Regions from separate parts of the Homo sapiens genome. Here regions 1 and 3 are each linked to region 2. Evidence: promoter capture Hi-C in human tissues and cell types (Jung and others, 2019). All regions are on one chromosome and are shown on one strand. Each heading gives the region's core, a stretch centred on a gene start or on the middle of the fragment in contact. The rest is flanking DNA. Distances are from core to core; before and after follow the strand shown. Region 1 overlaps MACF1 (microtubule actin crosslinking factor 1). Region 2 holds the start of NDUFS5 (NADH:ubiquinone oxidoreductase subunit S5). Region 3 overlaps RRAGC (Ras related GTP binding C).

Region 1 (2,700 bases), core at 163-2,662, 240 kb before region 2:
TAATAGATGTGTTACACAGCTGCAGGGGTCACCACTTACATTAAATTAGTTAAAATGAACAAATCATGCTGGGCACAGTGGCTCATGCCTGTAATCCCAGTACTTTGGGAGGCTGAGGTGGGCGGATCATGAGGTCAGAAGATCAAGACCATCCTGGCTAACACGGTGAAACCCCATCTCTACTAAAAATACAAAAAATTAGCCGGGTGTGGTGGCGGGCGCCTGTAGCCCCAGCTACTCGGGAGGCTGAGGCAGAAGAATGGCATGAACCTGGGAGGTGGAGCTTGCAGTGAGCTGAAATCGCGCCACTGCACTCCAGCCTGGGTGACAGAGTGAGACTCCGTCTCAAAAAAAAAAAAAAAAAAAAGAAAAAAGAAAAAAGATGAAAGAAAGGATATACCAAAGATACTATGTGTGTCAAATATAAAGACATACAAGCAACAGTACATATTGTTTATGAATAGATCATCTGCTGTAAATGTACAAAAGCATGTATGGGAATGATACACATCAACTTTAGGATAATATTTACCTGGGGAGCAGAGAGGGCAAAGAAAGTTGGATGTATCTGAGATGTTTTATTACTTTAAAGAGGAAGAGAGAGAAAAAACCCTGAAGCAAATATAACAAAAGGAACACCTGTTAAATTCTGAAGGCAACTACACACATAAGGATCTGTTATATACTCTTCCGAGTATTTGAGATTTTCAAAACTAAAAACTCAAATTAAAATTAAAAAGAACATCTACCATTTAGCACATTAAAAAAAATGTGTTAAAGCATTTTAGAAACCATAAACCTCTGCATGAAGTTATCAATATTACCAGCCTCATCAGCAGTCACAAATCTTTAATCTGGATCCAGCCTCTCCCTTCTCCTTCAACTGAATATTCCCTTGAGGTGAAAACTACCATCCATGTCTACAGGTACATCATTATTCTACTTCATTAACACCAATAACACAGACTGACCATAATAACAATTTTGCTGATTCCCTAACATGTAACAGTTCTACTCTGCATTTCCATTTGGCTTTACATAGCATATGTTCTTGGTGAGAACAGCTAATAGATACTCAATAATGAAAGACTAGAAAACCACAATGACAGATAACTAGCAAAAGACATACCATGCCAAATCTGATGCAAGACGAGGCGGGGGGTGGGGGGGCACTCCACATGATCCTTCAGTAGTCAATCAAAAGCTTCACAAGCAGAGAACCTTTCCCCACACACCAGAACACTTAGCTAGTATAGGCAAATACCAAGCCCTCAGAACGGCAAAGAAAAGGAATCCATAGTTAAAACTGAGAAAATATTCTGGGAGCGGTGCTCCCACCTACAAGAAGACAAATAAATAGGCATTTGGCTGTGCTGAAATAACAGAGAAAAGCAGGCAGCCAATATGCATGCAGAAGACAGACTAGGCCAAAGCTGCTATTACCTTTCTGTAAAATTGGTAACAGGAAAAAGAACAGTGGGCTGTGTCAAAAGCCCTGGAAGTTATAAGGTCAATTAATAATTATAATAAGTTGTTACTAGTAACTGCTGCCCACTGTTGAGTTCATACTGTGTTCCATCATCCTAACCCATACCTCTCTCATTCTCTAAACCTCTGTCAAGTTATTTTATGGTATGTCTGTTCTCACTCTCCTAAACAATAAGAGTCCAACTAGATGGTCTGTATCTAGTTCAATTTTGTATCTTCTGTAGTAGATTCTTTTTTTTTTTTTTTTTTTTTTGTGATGGAGTCTCGTGTAGCCCAGGCTGGAGTGCAGTGGCACAATTTCAGCTCACTGCAGCCTCCACCTCCCGGGTTCAAGTGATTCTCATGCTTTGCAGCCTCCCAAGTAGGTGGGACTACAGTGCGCCAACACACCTGGCTAATTTTTGTATTTTTAGTAGAGATGGGGTTTTACCATGTTAGCCAGGCTGGTCTTGAACTCCTGACCTCAAGTGATCTGCCCACCTAGGCCTCCCGAAGTGCTGGGATTACAGGTGTGAGCCATTGCACTCAGCCGTGTATCTTCCATACACTCTATCTAAGACCTTGCTCATAACATTCCCAGTCAATGTTTGTGGAATTCAATTAAATAATACATTTTCCTGCAAACTAAAACCACAAAGAGATACAATTTCACACTCACTGTGATAGCTATAATCTAAAACAGACAATAAATACTGGTGAGGATGTAAAGACACAGGAAACCACATACATTGCTGGTAGGAATGTAAAATGATACACCATTTTGCAAGACAATTTGGCAGTTTCTTTAAAAGCTAAACATGCTTACTGTACAATTAAGAAATCCCATTCCTAGGTATATACATGTATACACAAGAGAAATGAAAACATAAACCCACACAGACTGGTATGCAAATAACTTTATTTATAACAGTGAAAAAGTGAAAACCACTCAAATGTCTATCAACTGGCTTAATATTTAAACAAAATACATGATATATCCATACAACAGAATATTCAGCAATAAAAAAGAATGACGTACTGATATGTGCCACAACATGGATGAACCAAAAAATATTATGTTAAGTGAAAAAAGCCAGATACAAAAGACCATCTATCATAGGATTCCATTTATATGAAATGTCCAGAATAAGCAAATCTATCAAGATAGAAAATAAATTAGTGGCTGCCTGAGGCTGGTGATGAAAATGTGCAGTAACTGTAAATGAACAAGAA
Region 2 (2,700 bases), core at 168-2,667:
TCAAAAAAAAAAAAAAAAAAAAAAAAAGGCACTTGTGGTGGTATGTGCGCCTGTAGTCCCAGCTACTCCTAAGGCTGAGGCAGGAGACTGAGGCCAGGAGTTCAAGGCTTCAGTGAGCTATGACCTGGCCACTGCACTCCATCCTGGGCAACAAAGCGAGATCCTGTCTCAAAAAAAAAAAAAAACCAGAGCGAAAGAAATGGGTTAAGACTTACTTTGTAGACTATTACAGACAGTAGGGAAAAAAATTTACATGCAAATACATAATAATGTTAAATGTAAAAACACACACACAAAAACAAACCCTGACTGCCTAAAATGACTGAAAGGAAGCGCGCGCACACCCACAAATATCAATATAAATGTGTACTCATGGTAGATTTAAAGGTGAATTTAGTTGGGCGCAGTGGCTCACGCCTGTAATTCCAGCACCTTGGGAGGCCGAGGCGGGCGGATCACCTGAGGCCGCGAGTTCAAGACCAGCCTGACCAACATGGCGAAACCCTCTCTCTACTAAAAAAATACAAAATTAGCCGGGCGTGGGGGCGCATGCCTGTAATCCCAGCTACTCGGGAGTCTCAGGGAGGAGAATCGCTTGAATCCGGGAGGCAGAGGCTGCAGTGAGCCGAGATCGCGCCACTCTGCACTCCAGCCTGGGCAACAAGAGCGAAACTCCATCTCAACAAAAAGGTGAATTTAACTTCTTAAGTTCCTTCCCATCCCTCAGTCATCATTTACTGAGTAGTTACGTTCCAGGCACTCAGATGCGGGGGAAAGCAGCTCCAACGTAAGCACCAGAGACACACACTCGGAATTGCGAATACACTGCAAGGAACACGAGTGGGTAAGAGCTCGAAGGAGGAAGCACGAACTCTGCCCGGAGACTTGAAAATGCCTTTAACATGGCTTGCGAGTTCGCCAAGTGAAGATCAGTGGGCAGAGTGTTCCAGTTGGGCAACAGCCCGGAGTTACAGCCGGAAGTGCTGGCTATGTTTGGGGGACAATGGAGCGCAGCGTGCATGACGGTGAAAAGAATGAAATGAGCTCAGGAGGCCGGCGGGGCCGAAATCACGCAGAGCCTGGAAAGCTGGGATAAGGATCGTAGACTTTAGGTTAAGAAACAGAAAGCCAAAACATTAGTCCGGCAAAAACCTAAACAAATGTGGAAAGTGGAGAGAGCGGCAATCTCCAGGCTTCGGTGCCATTAGCTGTGGAGGTGAAGCGGCCTGGGAGGGCAGGGAACACGCCCTGAGTTCAGGTCTGGGAGAAGGGGACACACAGCAAGCCAAGAGGAAATCTGTTAAAGAGACCTCGGAAGGAAGGTCCTTAAGCTAAGCTGCCGCGCGGACATAAGCAGCCCCTACCTACCCGATGCTCGTGCCCTTGACTCTTCTCTGGCCGCCGCTTCAGAACGACTAGCTAGCGACGCGGACGCCTGCCGTAAAGGATGACCTCAGCGAGACGTTTGCAGCGCGACGCCGGAAGCCGACCTTCCCTCAGCCGTCTCCCCACAAAACCATAGAAACCGAGCCCGTTGGCCTGGTACGGTGGCTGACGTCTGCAATCCCAGCACCTTGGAAGGCTGAGGGAGGAAGATCACTTCAGCCCAGGAGTTCGAAAACAGCCTGGGCAACATGGCGAAACTCCCCTCTCTACAAAAAATAAAAAATTAGCCGGGCGAGGTGGTGCATGCCTGTGGTTCCAGCTACTCAGGAGGTTGAGGTGGGAGGATCCCTTGAGCCCAGGAGATTGAGGCTGTAGTGAGCCATGATCACACCATTCCATTGCATTCCAGCCCTGGCAACAGAGCAAGACCTTATCTCAGGGGGAGAGTGAGAGAGAGAGGATGAAGAAGAGAGAGAGGAGGTAGAGAGAGAGAAAGGAAAAAAAACCCAAACCCATCAATTACAGAGACACAGGGAAGGCCTAGCCATTAGTGAGTTCTTGCTCCTTTCTTGCACTCTGCCTAGCATGCTCACGACAACACTGAGTGGTGAGAGACTTCACCAAAGTCACAGGAGAGAAAGAACACTGGCTCCCTGCCTACCCACTAGTGGTTAAGCACATGGACTATGAGCCCAAACCACCACGTGGGGTCAAATGTAGGCCCCCAGCCGGGCGCAGTGGCTCAGGCCTGTAATCCCAGCACTATGGGAGGCCGAGGTGGGCGGATCACAAGCTCAGGAGATCGAGACCATCCTGGCCAATATGGTGAAACCCTGTCTCTACTAAAAATACAAAAATTAGCTGGGTGTGGCAGCGAGTGCCTGTAATCCCAGCTAGTGGGGGGAGGCCGAGGCAGGAGAATCGCTTGAATCCGGGAGGCGGAGGTTGCAGTGAGGTGAGATCGCGCCACTGGACTCCAGCCTGGCGACAGAGCTAGATTCAGTCTCAAAAAAAAAAAAAAAAAAAAAAAAAAAAAAAAAAAAAAGTAGGCCCCCACCAATTTCGTGTGACTCTAGGAAAGTTTCTTAACTTCATTGTGCCTCAGTCTCCTCGTCTGTTAAGATAATTATGGTATTCACAATGGAGGCTTGCTATAGGGATTAACTGATTTATGTATAAAGCACTGAGGCGGTGGCTAGCACATGGGAAACATTCCAAGGCAGTCGCAGTTCTTTGATGTCTCAGCTTTCAGTTTGTGAATCAACTGCTACCATGCCTGTCATCTGTTCCAGAACCTCCAATGACTCCCTTTGA
Region 3 (2,700 bases), core at 177-2,676, 170 kb after region 2:
AGGATAGTATTTTTCTGTGGTTGGGGAAAGAGGTGGTTTGAGGCTTTAACTCATTACTTGGCTTTTGTAAGATTTATTTTAAAAAATATTTTGTTCTGACTTACAGGATGACTACATGGAGGCTTTAACAAGACTTCACATTACTGTTTCTAAAGCCTACAAAGTTAACCCAGACATGAATTTTGAGGTTTTTATTCACAAAGTTGATGGTCTGTCTGATGATCACAAAATAGAAACACAGAGGGACATTCATCAAAGGGCCAATGATGACCTTGCAGATGCTGGGCTAGAAAAACTCCATCTTAGGTAACAACATGTGTGTTTGATATGAAAGCCCTGAACAAGGTGTAAATGTATTCCCATCTCTGTCATTACAAACACCATAGCTTTCTGCTACCTGTGTGCCCTTTGCCACATCTTTTATGTTTTTGATCTTGTTGTTGAATTCCAGGCTGTCTGGGGAGCCTGATATTGAGAAATTACCCACTTTTTGCGTTTTCCTGGAGATTGAAGTCATGTGAAGTGTTTCCACTGGTGCTTTTCCAAATTCATCTCAAGAGACTGGAGTCAGGCTGTTTCTTCATGGCATAAATCTGCTTTGGGACTCCTTCCTCTTGGTTTCATTACTTTTCCCCGCCTTGCATCAGTGAAGTGAATCTGTCACATTTGTTGTGGAAGTCTTTAGCTTGAGTCTTAGACAGTATCTTTCTCAGTAGGAACAGCCTTATACAGAGAGTGCACTTTCAAATCTGGACTGACTCTTTTTATTTTTCATTTTTATTTTTCCTGCTGGCTCCCTTCCACCTCCCCCCTGGACTGACTGTAATATATCTTAGCTTTTAAAACACTTTATACTTTTATGAAACTCTATAAAGTTTGGCTTAGGTGGGTTTATCTTATAAATGTGCATAAGGCTGCTATTAAATTTAGAGGACTATTGGTTTGTAACTACTGTTAAGAAATTATTATTAAATAATACCTACTTGATAGGATTGATTTGTGTATTTGCATTCTAAAAGTGTATGAGGAATATTTTTGTACATCTTATTTTATTTGGTGATATAGGTAGAAATGAGTATTAAAAAGTACCCAAGAAAATATTCTCTTGACGATAGAAGTAGCTTAAAGAGGGAGAAGGGGAGAGAGACAGCAAGTTATTTCTCTGTCCCCGTTCTATTGTTGTGACTTCTTTATGGGCTCAAGCTAACTGCTATCCCTCCCCCTAAAATTCTCTGGGTCTCAGGCTCCAAGATCTTTCAGTTATTCTTCTAGGAAACCATGTCGAAAAGTCTCATTGACCTCTAGTTTGCCTGGATTAAATTTCTAAATAATTTGAAAATAATTCATGTTAAAAAAATAAAAATTCAGCAATGTTTGTAGGAGAAAATGTAAGTGGCTCTCCACAAAAATTCAGTCTTATTTTTTTGGGAATCCACTGCTAATAGTTTTTTACCTGGATTTTGAGCCGTTCTTGTCCTGTGTTCCCCAGTGCTCCATGGGGATCCTTCTGATTCTCTTTACTCCGTGTCTGTGTTCCTTTCCAGGGCATCCCACCCTAGTGGTACATGCCATCCCTTTCCTCAGTACCATGTAGGGTCCTAGACCTTGTTAACTTCAGTAGAATGTTGCATCAAGCTTTTATTTAGGCCAGGCATAGTGGCTTATGCCTATAATCCCAGCACTTTGGGAGGCCGAGGCAGGCAGATCACTTGAGGCCAGGAGTTTGAGACCAGCCTGGCCAACATGGCGAAACTCCGTCTCTACTAAAAATACAAAAAATTAGCCGGGCATTGTGGTGTGTGCCTGTAGTCCCAGCTACTTGGGAGGCTGAGAGAGGAGAATCGCTTGAACCCAGGAGGTGGAGGTTGCAGTGAGCCAAGATCGTGCCACTGGACTCCAGCCTGGGTGACAGAGCAAGACTCCGTCTCAAAAAAAAAAAAAAAAAAAAGACTTTTATTTAGTACTAGCAGTCCTATGGATGAAGCTCCTTTTCATTTCCAGTTTCTAGAAACTCAGTTTACTAAAATGCCCTGTGACTTGCAGGTTCTCCCTGTCCCCATTTACCTCAAGCCTCAAAGGTGCGGGACATTCTTTCTTTGCTCACCTTTTGGCCTACAGGAAACACTAAAATATTCCTTTCTCCCTAGTATCTATGGGGTCATCTTGGCCTTACCTGTTCCAGTGCTCTTACATCTAGATTAGACCCCTGTCTTGCTAGATTAGGTTCTTAGGTCAGCTCCTTGAAAGTATTTTTTTTTTTTTTTTTGAGATGGAGTTTCACTCTTGTTGCCCAGGCTGGAGTGCAATGATGCCATCTCGGCTCACCGCAACCTCTGCCTCCCTGGTTCAAGCGATTCTCCTGCCTGAGCCTCCCAAGTAGCTGGGATTACAGGCATGCGCCACCACGCCTGGCTAATTTTTTGTATTTTTAGTAGACATGGGGTTTCTCCATGTTGGTCCGGCTGATCTCGAACTCCCGACCTCAAGTGGTCCACCTGCCTTGGCCTCCCAAAGTGCTGGGATTACAGGCGTGAGCCATCGCGCCCAGCTGAAAGTATCTTTAAATTACCTATAAAGTTCTGTGTCTCTGATGTTATATATACGTATAAATGTGTGGTGGATGCGACTATATAATGAAGATTGTACTCCCTGAGTTATAAAGCAGATAGAATTGTTGACAGTGTTTAAATTGTTAAAGGC

What was found. Contacts are between HindIII fragments. The study calls those that stand out against the background at their distance.
Region 1: a contact is called between a fragment that was not itself captured here and the fragment with the promoter of NDUFS5 in region 2, in 1 of the 25 tissues and cell types used here (pancreas).
Region 3: a contact is called between a fragment that was not itself captured here and the fragment with the promoter of NDUFS5 in region 2, in 1 of the 25 tissues and cell types used here (adrenal gland).

Annotation. Positions count from the first base shown.
Region 1 is chr1:39,261,439-39,264,138 of GRCh38, reverse strand. All of the region lies in intron 6 of MACF1 (microtubule actin crosslinking factor 1), which reads right to left. Among named protein-coding and RNA genes, the nearest start is that of MACF1, 58 kb to the right of the region's middle. The HindIII fragment of the contact is 3,503 bases long and covers 1-2,700 here.
Region 2 is chr1:39,025,067-39,027,766 of GRCh38, reverse strand. It overlaps NDUFS5 (NADH:ubiquinone oxidoreductase subunit S5), which reads right to left and starts at 1,417. Exons shown (of 3, transcript NM_004552.3): 1 at 1,365-1,417. RefSeq lists enhancers at 304-889, 890-1,476, 1,336-1,585. The HindIII fragment of the contact is 8,915 bases long and covers 1-2,700 here.
Region 3 is chr1:38,853,314-38,856,013 of GRCh38, reverse strand. RRAGC (Ras related GTP binding C) reads left to right here. Exons shown (of 7, transcript NM_022157.4): 3 at 107-306. Among named protein-coding and RNA genes, the nearest start is that of RRAGC, 5.1 kb to the left of the region's middle. The HindIII fragment of the contact is 4,658 bases long and covers 1-2,700 here.